Regions from separate parts of the Homo sapiens genome. Here all the other regions are linked to region 2. The links are contacts of gene promoters, found by promoter capture Hi-C in blood cells and fetal thymus (Javierre and others, 2016). All regions are on one chromosome and are shown on one strand. The core of a region is centred on a gene start or on the middle of the fragment in contact, and the rest is flanking DNA. Distances in the headings are between cores, read along the strand shown. Region 1 overlaps HAT1 (histone acetyltransferase 1). Region 2 holds the start of ITGA6 (integrin subunit alpha 6). Region 3 has its middle 68 kb from the start of DLX2-DT.

The links. Contacts are between HindIII fragments. The CHiCAGO score rates a contact against its expected background, and 5 or more counts as called.
Region 1: a fragment that was not itself captured here is called in contact with the fragment with the promoter of ITGA6 in region 2 in 2 of 17 cell types (naive CD4 T cells and non-activated CD4 T cells); the score reaches 5.4 in naive CD4 T cells.
Region 3: a contact is called between a fragment that was not itself captured here and the fragment with the promoter of ITGA6 in region 2, in 14 of 17 cell types (megakaryocytes, M1 macrophages, M0 macrophages and 11 more). The highest score is 19.9, in megakaryocytes.

The regions. Positions count from the first base shown.
Region 1 is chr2:171,957,863-171,962,063 of GRCh38, forward strand. The region is part of intron 4 of HAT1 (histone acetyltransferase 1); the gene reads left to right. Among named protein-coding and RNA genes, the nearest start is that of HAT1, 38 kb to the left of the region's middle. The HindIII fragment of the contact is 1,209 bases long and covers 825-2,033 here.
Region 2 is chr2:172,425,917-172,430,460 of GRCh38, forward strand. It overlaps ITGA6 (integrin subunit alpha 6), which reads left to right and starts at 1,670. Exons shown (of 26, transcript NM_000210.4): 1 at 1,670-2,054. The coding sequence starts at 1,873. RefSeq lists a silencer at 1,618-1,697 and enhancers at 2,482-2,982, 4,407-4,544. The HindIII fragment of the contact is 11,901 bases long and covers 1-3,949 here.
Region 3 is chr2:172,168,144-172,172,934 of GRCh38, forward strand. No RefSeq gene overlaps it. Among named protein-coding and RNA genes, the nearest start is that of DLX2-DT, 68 kb to the left of the region's middle. The HindIII fragment of the contact is 664 bases long and covers 2,568-3,231 here.

The DNA.
Region 1 (4,201 bases), core at 179-2,678, 470 kb before region 2:
TTATATCTGATATACTGTTGGTAATACTGTGCTAGACACAAGTATGGAAAATGAAATATATTACTTCATACTGTATGTCATAACTTTCCTCTGCAGAAGTAGCAGTTCCTAAAGAATTAACAATTAAACCAACTTTTTCAGGGCTTTAAACTGATTTTAACTGTTGACTTTACCTCTTTTGCCACCCCTATGCCCCATCTATATTTTTGGTTAAAACCTCCTCTCATTACTGGAACTGACTTACTTGGCCCTTTTTTATTATTTAAATTTTGAGGGATTTGTTATATTTAAAGGTTTTGCCCAAAGTCATACAACTAGTAAATAATCAGTATTGTACTAGGAGATGATTATTTAGTGTTATTATGCATAATATATAATAATATCCTGATTAAAAGATGTTAGGAATATTTATGACCTGTTCTAAGAGGATCCAGGCTCTTGGGCTTACTGCTTTTTCTCTCTCTCTCCCGTTATTTTTTTTTTTAATTTTAAGTTCTGGGATACATGTGCAGAACTTGCACGTTTGTTACATAGGTATCTTTCCCCTTTTGACCATGTGTTTTTCCCCCTCATTAAAAAAAATATTTTTTTAATTTTTAATTTTTTGTAGAGACGGGGTCTTGCTATAGTGCCCAGACTGGCCTCAAACTCCTGGCCTCAAGCAATCTTCCCACCTTGGCCTTCCAAAATGCTGGGATTACAGGCACAAGCCACCGTACCCAGCCTTCTCCTGTGTTTTATGCCATGTGCTCCCAGTTTACTGCTATCATTGTAAGGAGCTTCACACTAGCAAACCCCTTATGGTTAAAAATACCATATTGGTAAGCTTGATGGAATCTGATTACTTCATACTGTATGTCATAACTTTCTTTTGCAGAAGTAGCAGTTCCTAAAACATTAACAATGCCACCAACTTTTTCAGGACTTTAAACTGACATTAACTTCTGACTTTACCTCTTTTGCCAACCCTATGCCCCATCTATAAAACTAATTGTGCGTAGCATGAAAAAGATCTGAAATAGTTTCATATAATATGAATTGTGCATAGCATGAAAAAGATCTGAAGTAGTTTCATATTCATTATTCAACTTTAGTATTAGAAATATTTTGAGTTCTATTTGGTTTTTTTGTGTGTTTTTCCCCACTTCCCAGCCATGTTTGAGATGACTGAGCTTGCCAGATAAATAATATGTAACTACATTTAATATTTGTTTTATTTTATATAGTTTGTTTCCCAGGATAACTTTTGAAATTGTGCAGATACAAAAGTGATTCTGAGTAATACTGTAGTGGTTTGATGTTTGAAAAGATGTAATCTTAGATAAACTAGCATTTAACACATTTATTAAAATAGAGTTTTTTCATAATCAAATATGTAGATTGCTAAATTCTCCAGACCCAAGCCCAGCTAGATATTCTTATTAAAAATGCAGGTGATGTTTTTCCTTGTGTGTAAACCCACTGTTGGAGGGTTTTTGTTTTTTACAGTTGCAGCTGATAGCACTGAATTGATTTCTTCCAAAGGAACTATTGATTTAGTTATAGATAAATCTTTTAAATATTTCATGCAGTGAAAATAGCTGTGTATTTGCATTGACATCTAATTGTTCCATTCTTGAAAATTAGGTTTTTCCATTTAGAAATACTGTGTTAGGAATAAGGAATCAATCTTTTATAATGTCTCTTTGTAGAGTTACTTATTTGCTTTGTGGTCAAAGATCATTTATATTGCGTATTCAAACAAAGACTTTTTTCCCCTTATTAAAAACGATTGGGTAGGGGATATGTGGGTCATGGGCTTGCTTCTTCTATCTCAGTTTGCAGTGAGTGTTCATTCCATAGTGCCTTCTGTGTTGTTGATGCCAGCGATACAGTGGCAGACAAAGTCATGGAGCTTACATTCTAGCCAAGAGGAACAGTCAGTAAACAAAATAGTAAATACACAAATTAAATTCAGGCAGTATTATGAAGATACATTTTGCTCATTTCTGAATGATAAAGGAGGAACCAGCCATGTTATAATCTGAGGGTAAAGCTTACTAAGATACAAAGGCTCTAAAAATACAGCATTTTTGGCATTTTTGTAGTCCAGAAAGATTACCAGGGTTAAATCATTGTGGTGATGGAGAGAGGGGTAGGAGATGGTTGAAGGGGATGCAAAGCTAGATCATCATATAGGATCTTGTGTTCTGTGATAGGTGTTTGCAAGAAATAAGAGTAGTTGGCATTCTTTAGAGGCATTCTTAAGTAGGTGGAGGTCATAAACAATGTGATTTATATTTTTAAAATATGATTCTGGCTGCTGTGCAGAGAACACACTGTATAGGGCAAAAGTGAAAGAAGAGACCGGAACATTGCAGTGTTAGAGGTGACACTGGACTTAGTTGTCAGAGTAAGGAACATTTTGGAGGTCTGCTGTTGAATTAGATGTGACAGATGAAGAAAAAAAACGAGAACCCCATTGCCCAAGTTCAATTATGGTACTGTTAACTGGGAAAACTATAGAAGAAATAGGTTTAAGTGGAAACAATAAAAAAATTTTATTTTGGATGTTAGGTTTGAGTCTAATATATTAGGGCTTTGCAGATCATACTGCATAGATGGTCAGCAGCCATAACATCTGCTTAGAAGTTATTTCTTATTAGGATTATGTCATTACATTAATTTTTAATCATCCATTCTTTTACTTTTCCAAGCTGAATGCTCTAGTTGCACCTAAAATTCTTCAGTCACAATTAAGATGCCTATAAAATCTCTACTAGCCACCATCTTTAAAGGAAACATAATTCTGAATTTTACAATACAATAAACTTGATTATTCAGACACTGATGATTTTTTCATCTGGTTGTCCTTGACCTTTGCTTTTATTAACACCTCCTGCTCTGTGCTTGTAATGCCAGCTACTCTGTAGGCTGACTCAGGAGGATCATTTGAGGCCAGGAATTTGAGACCAGCCTTGGTAACATAATAAGACCCTGCCTATTAAAAAAAAAAAATGCTGAACGTGGTGGCTCAAACCTGTAATCCCAGCGCTTTGGGAGGCCGAGGTGGACAGGTCACTTGAGGTCAGGAGTTTGAGACTAGCCTGGCCAACATGGTGAAACCTCATCTCTACCAAAAGTGCAAAAATTAGCCAGGTGTTGTGGTGCGTGCTTGTGGTCCTAGCTACTCAGGAGGGTGAGGCAGGAGAATCACTTGAACTCGGGAAGTGGAGGTTGCAGGAAGCCGAGTTCGCGCCACTGTACTCCAGCTTGGGTGACAGAGCAAGACTCTGTCTCAAAAAACGAAAACAAAAGCTAGGCATGATGGCATGCTCCTGTAGTCCCAGCTACTTGGAAGGCTGAGACAGAAGGATCTCTTGAGCCCAGGAGGTCAAGGCTGCAGTAAGCTATGGTTACACTACTACATTCCAGCCTAGGTGACAGAGCAAGACTCTTGTCTTAAAAACAAAAACCTCCTGCCTTTTCTTGGGGGTAATTTCATTGCCTTTTAGTGAAGTAGTGGGTAACTAAGATTGTTGTCTTGCTAATTGCTAGCATTTCTGGGAAAAGTTTGGTACAGGAAGTTGAAATAGATGGATAAAGTTTGTATTAACTGTGAATTTCAGTTATTTTATCCTAGTGTCCCACTAATTGGATTGAATTTGAGAGGATATGAGAGCAGATTTTAAAAATTTTATGGAGTGTTTAGCCTCTTTCTAGGAAAATCCTACATACTTCCAGAAATTTCGAAAAAATCTTTGGTAGACTAGTAAAATTTCAAATTGTGATGGTGTTCTTGATAAGTAATACTTTTTATGAAATATCATAAAGAGCTTTAAAAGTATATATTGACAAGTTTATCTTGTTTAGTTCAAGTAGCAAAATACTAATGCAGTGTAAATAAACATAATATGACCTTTGTTTTTCCATTAGTGAAAAAGTTCACACTTTTAATTTCTCAACAATACATTCTGTAGTTAAAGCTTAAATATTATCAGAGAACATGAGATTGAGAACATTAAGTAGATACAGAATTTCTTTTGCTTGTTTTTTTTTTTTTTAGCATATTTTAGGTAGTCTTAGAATTATAGTTAAGTCTATGTACCACTTTAGCCAAGTAAAGAACAACATGTTACCACCTACTTAACGTGCCTTTAATTTCAATCTCAAAAATAACTAGACAAATTTAGACAAATGGTGCTGCTTAAGATAAGATGTT
Region 2 (4,544 bases), core at 420-2,919:
TCATCTACTGAATTTAAACCACTGCACCCCACTTTGGACTATAATTGACTGGAGTTACTGATTGGAAAGGAAGTGGTACACACCCCTAATATACTGACGGACTTACTCTGACAGCTGCTACCACCTGTGGGGACCCTTGATGATGTTCACGCAGCTTTTCTGAGTGGCACATGCTGTTCTCTTGAATACTCCTTGAGGTGAAGAAGAGGCCACCCCTACCCCTATGCACACACAGCTCCTGCTCTTTCCTGGGGCTGCACCCTGCTTGTATTTCCAATGCAGGGATGTCAGATTCCAAAGAGGGCTCCCCAAGGCATTCCAGAAGGCTTCAGGCCAGCACGTCCCAACCTTTTCATGCCATGGGACCCCTTTGGCAGGCTGCTGAAAACCATGGGGTTCTTCTCAGAATAAGGGTTTTAAATACATAAAAGAAACCACAAGAGGTTACAAAAAAAGCCAATAATATTGAAATGTAGCTAACAAAATGTTTTTAAAAATTTGTGCTAGAGCAATATATATGCTTCATTATTGACATATAATATCTGGCTGATTGTCTAATAACTACTGTTATTTGAGATACTTGCAACAACTGTGATGTGATGTAAAAACCTATGGTTTCTAGTGATTACTAAGTCATAAATACTTATCCTACTGCTACTGTAGTTTGTTGTCTACGTTCATAATGGCAAAACGTGCTAAATGTCAGAGGTTGGTGAAAATTAAGACGTAAATTTTTTCTCATCCAAGTTCACAGTACTCTTGAATTAATTACCTCTCCTCGGGTTAAGAACCCCTGCAGGATAAGGTTGCCCCTAGGGCCAACACCTCACTGGAGCCCCGCCTCATGTCCTGGAGGCAGGAGCCTTCATGCCACCTACACAGAACTCGGAGCTGTCTCTTGGCCCAGCAGTTCTCCCCACAACTAGTTCTGAAAGTCCGGGGCTAGGAAAGAACGGCATCGTCGCCTGAGCTCCTGGCGCCACTTTAAACAACCCATCCTTGACTTGCGTGACTTCTTCCACAAGCTCTCCTGGTCACCTGGGCAAAATCCTAGGTGATCTGGGGACAAGGCGGAACTTCGGTTTTCTGATCTGCAAAAAGAAACACCTACCTCATAGGACTGTTAGGATGAATTGAGGTAATGGCTGGGTTGTGTACATTATACAGCACTATCAAGGTGTGCGCTGTGATCATTTTTGAGGGTTGTTAGGTGTTTGAGGACCCAGAACAGTCTACACAGCTGTAGTCCCCAAGTGTTGGGCACGCCTTAAGCGCTCCATAAACACCTGTAGAAATGAATGAATGACGTATGCATCTGCACGTGGGCCCACATCTGCAAGAACAGGCTGCTCAGGCCATGAGGCCCGGTGCATCACCTGCACTTCTCTTTATAACGGGTAGTAAAGTCTCCCTCGCTCTGTGCTACTCGGCAACCACAATTCTGTCCACAGAGGGCGGCGCAGTGGGGCTGCTTCGCCGCGAGCTCGCCTCCGGGGCTCCCACGTCGTGGCTTCCGGGCAGGTACCGGGCAGCTGGAGACGCCAGAGCCGGCGGGTAAGGTGCGGGCGGTGCGCCGGGCCGCGGGCGCGCAAGGAGGGGCGAGAGGGTGGGGAGGGGCGGGGCCGGCGTCCTCGTCACTTGATAAAACGCCTGCGAGTCTCCAGAGAACAACGGGCTCATTCAGCGGTCGCGAGCTGCCCGCGAGGGGGAGCGGCCGGACGGAGAGCGCGACCCGTCCCGGGGGTGGGGCCGGGCGCAGCGGCGAGAGGAGGCGAAGGTGGCTGCGGTAGCAGCAGCGCGGCAGCCTCGGACCCAGCCCGGAGCGCAGGGCGGCCGCTGCAGGTCCCCGCTCCCCTCCCCGTGCGTCCGCCCATGGCCGCCGCCGGGCAGCTGTGCTTGCTCTACCTGTCGGCGGGGCTCCTGTCCCGGCTCGGCGCAGCCTTCAACTTGGACACTCGGGAGGACAACGTGATCCGGAAATATGGAGACCCCGGGAGCCTCTTCGGCTTCTCGCTGGCCATGCACTGGCAACTGCAGCCCGAGGACAAGCGGCTGTGAGTTCCCAGACCCTTCCCACCCCCACTGGGGCGCCGGCCTGCGCGCGAGTTGAGGCGAGGGCGCGCCCTGTTCCCGCCGGCCCCGGGGAGTAGTTGGCCCGTGGGTCGCGCCCGGGCCGGCCGAGGCGCACCCAGCGCCCAGCGCGCTCGGCTCCCCGCCCTGACCCGCCCCGCGCGGCGCCTCCCTCCATTCAGCTCGGGAAGGAGGAGAACCCGAGGGCTAGGCTGGGCCCCGGGAGAGTTTACTTTTTTTTCTGTTTTAAACAAAGTGCTTTCCGCCGGTTCTTCCCTCCGGGCGTGTTTGCTGGGACCCCGGCAGGTGGCACGCTTTGCTGAGCTTCACGTGTGTGTTTGGGGCTGGGGTGGCGTTCAGGGTCACCGCAGCGCTGCTGTGGGTTTGCAGGGAGCGTAGTTCCAGGATGGTCTAGGCCTTTCCCAAACTCACGGTGCACCCCGTCTCCCCCGCAGACTGGCGCGCCCCGCACAAGTTGGAAAGCCACTTTCCATGTGTCCTGCATGACTTTCTCAGCAAGGCGGGGGCGCTCCTTAGGAGATACTTTTACATGCCTTTGAAAAAAAAAAAAAAAAAGATGGGGGTGGGGGCGGGAATTAACCAAACACCTGTTCGCTGGACTAGATCAGCTGAGAAAACAAGTCTGAGTGATGTGCCCAGCCCCCAAAGTACTCGGCCGCACCCGAGACCCGCTCGGCTCCTGCGTTGGGCGGGCACAGCCAAGGGGTTAAAGCAAAATGTCCGATCTGAGCCTGGACTTTGCAAACAAGGTTTGTAAGGGACAACCCCCCACCGTAGCGGTAAACCTCCCAGGAGAAAGAGGAGACCGGCACTACTGGCCTCTCCTTTTATTTCTTAAACAGTGTTTGGTTCCCACATGATCGGCTATTTAAGCCGGAGAGGGTATTTTGGCGCTTAGTCGCCTTAATCGCTATGGGGTTGCATTCTTCATCTGTGCTACTGAAAAATAGGCTGTAGCAACAAAAGGTCTCCCCTCCCCACCCAGGCCTTGAGTTGAACTAAGGACCTTCCAGGACCAACAGACCGGAGAAAGCAAAGTGCAGCCACAGTGAAGAGATTTTGTGTTTAGGAGAGGCGAATGGGATTTTAGAACTGGAGGAAACCTCTTGATTTCAGCGGTTAACAACTTTGGAATTCGTGAATGTTGCAGCCCCTGAATTTTAGTCAGTTTTTTTTTTTTTCTGATAACACCTGCTAGGTGAAGCACAGAAATTAGCTGGGGGTGGGGAGGCTCTAGGAGGGTGGTCTGAGGCTATATGCCTGGCCAGCTGCTTATACTCTGCTTTCTCTCAGAAATAATTGTTGTTAAGCTGTAAATCTGAAATGAAAGGTTCCTGTTAACTCAGTTAATAGATGACGTTTATTGTCTCGGAATACTTGGTGTGTAGAATTTGAGCTTGTTAGTGCAGAAATGATTGTGGGCCAGCAGAGGGAATTCATTCTCCTGGGCATTCTCTCTCTGCACCAGAGCCCCACTGAAACCGGTGGCTTCCTTGAAATACTTGTTCAAGCAAAAAGTGTGAAGGGAAAGTACTGGGACAAGAAATATCCTGGCAGTGGAGATTTGCGAAACGTGACTTTGCCAGGAATCTGTGTCGTGAAGGTTAGCAGCATGCTTGCTAAAACTTGTTACTGCTGCTGGGCTTCTCTGGTATTAGAGCTGAGGCAACTCCTCCCGAGGTAAGGATAAGCCTGCAATGGGGTCTGATGCCTTCTAGGAAAGCTCTTCTTAGCAGCTGACAGAGGGGAGAGGCCCCGTATAAGGAGACTGTATGTTTCCTAGAGTCCAAAGGCAGTGACCACACTTTAAAGAGGCTGTGGTTTATGTCACGTGCTGCCCACCTCCATGCTTTTGTAAAGCTTTATTCCAGCTTCAGGAATAGCATTGGTCTTCCCAGGAGAACCAGCACACACAGGCCATAGCACAGGTCAGTTGTCAACCTTTGACAGTAAAGAATGTGGGTGTAAATGGCAGAGCCAGTAAGACTGAGAAAACTTCTGGACCAGCTTCCTAAACTCTATGGAAAAACTCAGTGGGGGTCTTTCAGGGACCTGGTGGGAGAGAGACCTAAGCTGAGATTCCTTCTCGGCCTTTTATTAGCAGCTGTTAATTTACTTTGAGCTTTAATTTCTTTATCTGTAAAATGGAGATATTACTGCTTACTGGGGTTATTATGAGGATTAAGAGATAATATGCAAAGTGCTTAATGCCTGTCTGGCATGGGTACTTGCTGACTAAATGGTAGCTGTTAATGATCATTTAAAAAGCAGTAATTGTGTACCTACTGTGTGTCAGGTACCTTACAAGGTGTCTTAAACATTCTGTGATTCTAAGATTGCCTGAGAGTAAAGCCAAAGGTGGTTGTTTTTGGGTAATGATATTTTAAACTCAGTCATATTTATGAAACCCATGTTCAAAGCAACTTAACTTTAATAGGTCTTAATTAGACTTA
Region 3 (4,791 bases), core at 1,650-4,149, 260 kb before region 2:
TGCTAGGGCAGTGTGGAAGGGAAATGTGGGGTTGGAACCTCCACACAGAGTCCCTACTGGGGCACTGCCTATTGGAGCTGAAGAGGTCCACCATCCTCCAGAACCCAGAATGGTAGATCCACAGACAGCTTGCACCGTGCACCTGAAAAAGCTGCAGACACTCAATGCTAGCCCGTGAAAGCAGTTGGGAGAGAGGCTGTATCCTGCAATGCCACAGGGACAGAGGTGCCCAAGACCATGGGAACCCACCTCTTGCATCAGCGTGACCTGGATGTGAGACCTGGAGTCAAAGGAGATCATTTTGGAGCTTTAAAATTTGACTACCCCACTGGATTTCAGACTTGCATAGGCCCTGTAACACCTTTGTTTTGGCCAATTTCTATTTTGGAATGGCTGTATTTACCCAATACCTGTACCCCCATTGTATCTAGGAAGTAACTAGCTTGCTTTTGATTTTACAGGCTCATAGGCGCAAGGGACTTGCCTTGTCTCAGATGAGACTTTGGACTGTGGACTTTTGGGTTAATGCTGAAATGAATTAAGACTTTGGGAGACTGTTGGGAAGACATGATTGGTTTTAAAATGTGAGGATATGAGATTTAGAGGGGCCAGGGGTGGAATGATATGGTTTGGCTGTGTCCCCACCCAAATCTCAACTTGAATTGTATCTCCCAGAATTCCCATATGTTGTGGGAGGGACCCAGGGGGAGGTAATTGAATCATGGGGGCCAGTCTTCCCCATGCTATTCTCATGATAGTGAATAAGTCTCATGAAATCTGCTGGGTATATCAGGGATTTCTGCTTTTGCTTCTTCCTCATTTTTGTCTTGCCGCTGCCATGCAAGAAGTGCGTTTCACCTCCCACCATGATTCTGAGGCCTCCTCAGTCATGTGGAACTGTAAGTCCTATTAAACCTCCTTTTCTTCCCAGTCTCGGGTATGTCTTTATCAGCAGCTTGAAAATGGACAAATACAGGAAGCAGTGTAGTAACTGGACATAAATATTTTACTTCATGTTATGACTTTATGGCTGTGATTATCTTTAGCAGTGTTGCATGGTTGTGGCTTAGAATAGTTACTCTTGCCAAATCCTTGAGAACCTTCAACTGTTTAGTCACTTATTTTTGGCTTCTCTGATACTTATTGACATTCTTTCTGAGGACTTGCCCAGCAGGTAAATTATAAGTTTGTGCCAGAGTGTGTTCTGTGGAATATTGCTTCTGCAAATAGGATTTCATGGTTGAATAATTTTGAAAATCACTGTATAGTGTATCTCACTCTTGGAGATTCACAATGCACATTTAGGACGTTACAGGCTTTGCAAAATCCTGTAGAAAAGAAACCAATTTAATTTGTTTAGTCCAGCATTTCCTAAACTTCCTTGCTGTAGTGGGTTGAATGGTGGTCCCCTCAGAACACCCATGTCAAATCCCTGGAACCTGTGGCTGTTACCTTATTTGGTAAAAGATTCTTTGCATATGTAATTAAGTTAAGGATCTTGAGATCATCCTGTATTATTCAAGTGGGCTTTAAGTCCAGTGATAAGTGTTCATATAAGAGAAAGGCAGGGGTAGATTTGAGACAGAAGAGGAGAAGACAGACACAGAAGAGAGAGACAGTAAGGCAGAGGCTGAGGTTGGAATGGTGTGGCCACAAGCCAAGGAAGCCATAAAATATTAGCCACCAGAAGCTGGAAGGCCAGGCCCCTAGAAGGAAATGAGCCCTACTGATACCTTGATTTCAGACTTCTGGCCTCCAGAACTTTGAGGGAATACATTTCTGTTGTTTTAAACCATCCATTTTAAGGCAATTTGTTAGGCAGCCCTATACAATGGATACCCTTGCCCATAAAGATATTAAAAAAAAACAACAACAACTTTTCAAGGAAAAACTACTGTGTATGCTCAAATATGAGGCAAGGGTTTTTTTCTTCCAAATTATCTCTCAGAAAAGATGGAGTATCCTAATATTCAAGGGCTTCCGAGGTCTCATATTTCAGAGCATTTTCTGGATTACTTACTTTTAAATGACTAAGGTATTGTATGGAAAAAGCACAATACTGAAACCAATCAATACTAGTTTTAGTTGATGATAAAGGTTATCTGATGGAATTGGTTAAAAAAAAAGAGGGGGAAAAATACATTTAGCACAAAATTAGTAACTATTATTGGGAGTATGAGGCAGTTGCTGTGGACTACCTTACTCACCATGTATTCTAACTTTCTTCTATTGTCTTAGGCCAGGTGCTGTGGCTCATGCCTGTTATCCCAGCACTTTGTGAGGCCAAGGTGGGAGGATTGCTTGAGGCCAGGAGTTTGAGACCATCCTGGACAACATAGTGAGATCCAGTGTCTACTTTTTTATATACATAAAAAAGAATCTGTCTTCTTATACTGAAGAATCCGGAAAGCTAAAAACAATCTTTTCTAGACCTTCTTGCAGTAAGAATTTTGGATGTACTTTAGGTTCTGACATTCAGATGCACTTGCTTATATAAATCTTGGCTTTGGAAGGTGGCATTCATTTTTGTTTGTGATTGGTAGCAGATATGATATGCAGCAGCAGCAAGCTTGGCCGGCAGCTTCTTGATTGTAGCAGAGGTGGCATCATTTCACACGGGGCCGCCATAGCAGCAGAGCCAGATTTGGCTTGGGGCTTTTTGTTCTCTGGCCAATTATCTGATGTGACTTTGGAATTATTACTAGAAGCTCAGTCTAGAGTCTGTTTCTTGCCAAACTCTCCCCTACTACCTCCAGTTCGGTGATTCTGGAAGTTATATGACACCCTGTTACAAATCTCTTGCTCAAACTAGCCAGGAGCTAGACCCTTATTCTCTGTAGCTAGACCCTTACTGATTGATGCAGGGCCTGACCTCCCCATGTGACTATTGACTGGGTGCTGGTGTAAATCAGCAATGACAAAAAAGCAATACAGTTAGTGAATATGTTGAAGAGATCACAAATCTATACCTATAGGATACATTTTTTAAAACTCTGAATTTATCAAATTATGGCTTAGTATTAAATGTCCGGTGGTAGCTCACACATGGGTTCAAAAAATATTGTTTGTAAATAAAAATGACTGTGTTAGATGCCCTAAGATACGTCTCTTCTTCTGACTAAGATATTGAAAAACTCAGGTAAGAGTTTAAATAAAATTGCTTCATAACATGTCAGAGTAGAAAAAAAGCATTATTTCAAAATCAATGTGTTATTTCACATGTGTGATTTAAGCTTTTATGTGTAACCAAATGAATAAATCCAATCCTATACACTGACATTTAACTCATATATATCCTAAACATTTATGTTTTCAAGTTGGCTAAAAGAATTCCTAAAACCGCAACTTTTTTTTTTGAGGAACTTTTCTCTTGCAACACGTGGGCTCACCATATGTTCAGGGTGCCCTGATGTTCAAGTTATATGGTATTAATATGGCCTGAAACTGAAGTGCAGAGGGCATCCATTGAAAAATGCTGGTCTACTGGATCAAGGTTCACCATAATATATGGTTATTTGGTGTTCAATAAACTTTTTTTTTTTTTTAAGACAGATTCTTACTTTGTCACCCAGGCTGGAGTGCAGTGGTGCCATCTTGACTCACTGCAACCTCCGCCTCCCGGGTTCAAATGATTCCTGTGCCTCAGCCTCGCGAGTAGCTGGAATTACAGGCGCGCACCACCACACCCGGCTAATTTTTGTATTTTTAGTAGAGACAGGGTTTCACTATGTTGGCCAGGCTGCTCTCGAACGCCTGATTTCAGGTGATCCACCGGCCTCAGCCTCCCAAAGTGCTGGGATTTTAGATGTGAGTCACCGCGCCCAGCCCAATAAACTTGTTAAGTGACAAATAAAATTGGCGAGTGAGTGTTGCTGTTGTGACTTTGCTGCTTTTTTCTTTCCTGTTCTTAACTGCTGCAGGGTTTCTTTCTGTCTTGGTGCCTATTCCTAAGACAGATGAGGAAGATAGGATCTCTGCTTCATGGAGCTTGTAGGTTCTGCTAAAGGGAATGACATGCAGATTCAATTCACAGGGAACGTGGTAAGAGCTGAGAGACTGTTACAATGGCCGCGAAAGCCAGCGAGCCAGGGGACATTTCCACTTAGCCAGAGGCCAACGTCACAAAGCAGGTGGCATTTTGGTCGAGCCTGCTTATAAGCCTAGTGTCTATAGATTTTATTAAATCATTAGAGTCATTCTTCAGGTAGAAACGGACCTTCCTTGACTTCATAAATTACAAGATGTCTGGAATTCTGAATTTTATCCCTCCAAGTCCCTCCACCGGAACTTTCCAGCACTTCGATTTTCTTCTACAGCGTGAGGGAAGGGTCAGGTTTAGACATTGTCTTGGCAAACAGATCAGCCCTCTCCATTTAGGAAGGAGGAGGGAAGCTGCTCCCGCGGCCACATTTCCTGGAAGGCTGCAGGTGAGGGCTCGGGCGGTGGCGGGCCGTGGTCCGGCGCAGTTTCCCCGCGGCCCGCTGGGTCGCACTGTGGCCTTAGGAATGTGGGCCGGGGCGGGGCGGCTTGGGAGCGCGCTGCAGCCAACGCCGCGTTCAGCCCCGGGCGCAACTGCAGCCGTGCCGGGGGCCTCCGGGGCCCCGACCGACCGACAGCTCTTTCAGACCGCAGCGAAGTTTGCACACACGACAGCACGTCCCGGGGCTAGGATCTTGCCCGCCTGCGGGGCTGACCTGCACCACCCTTGGGGAAGCGCGAACTGCCGCCCCGCTGCCGGGAGTTAGGCGCCCGGGCCTGGGTCGCCCCCACAGACGGCTCGGACGGCACGAA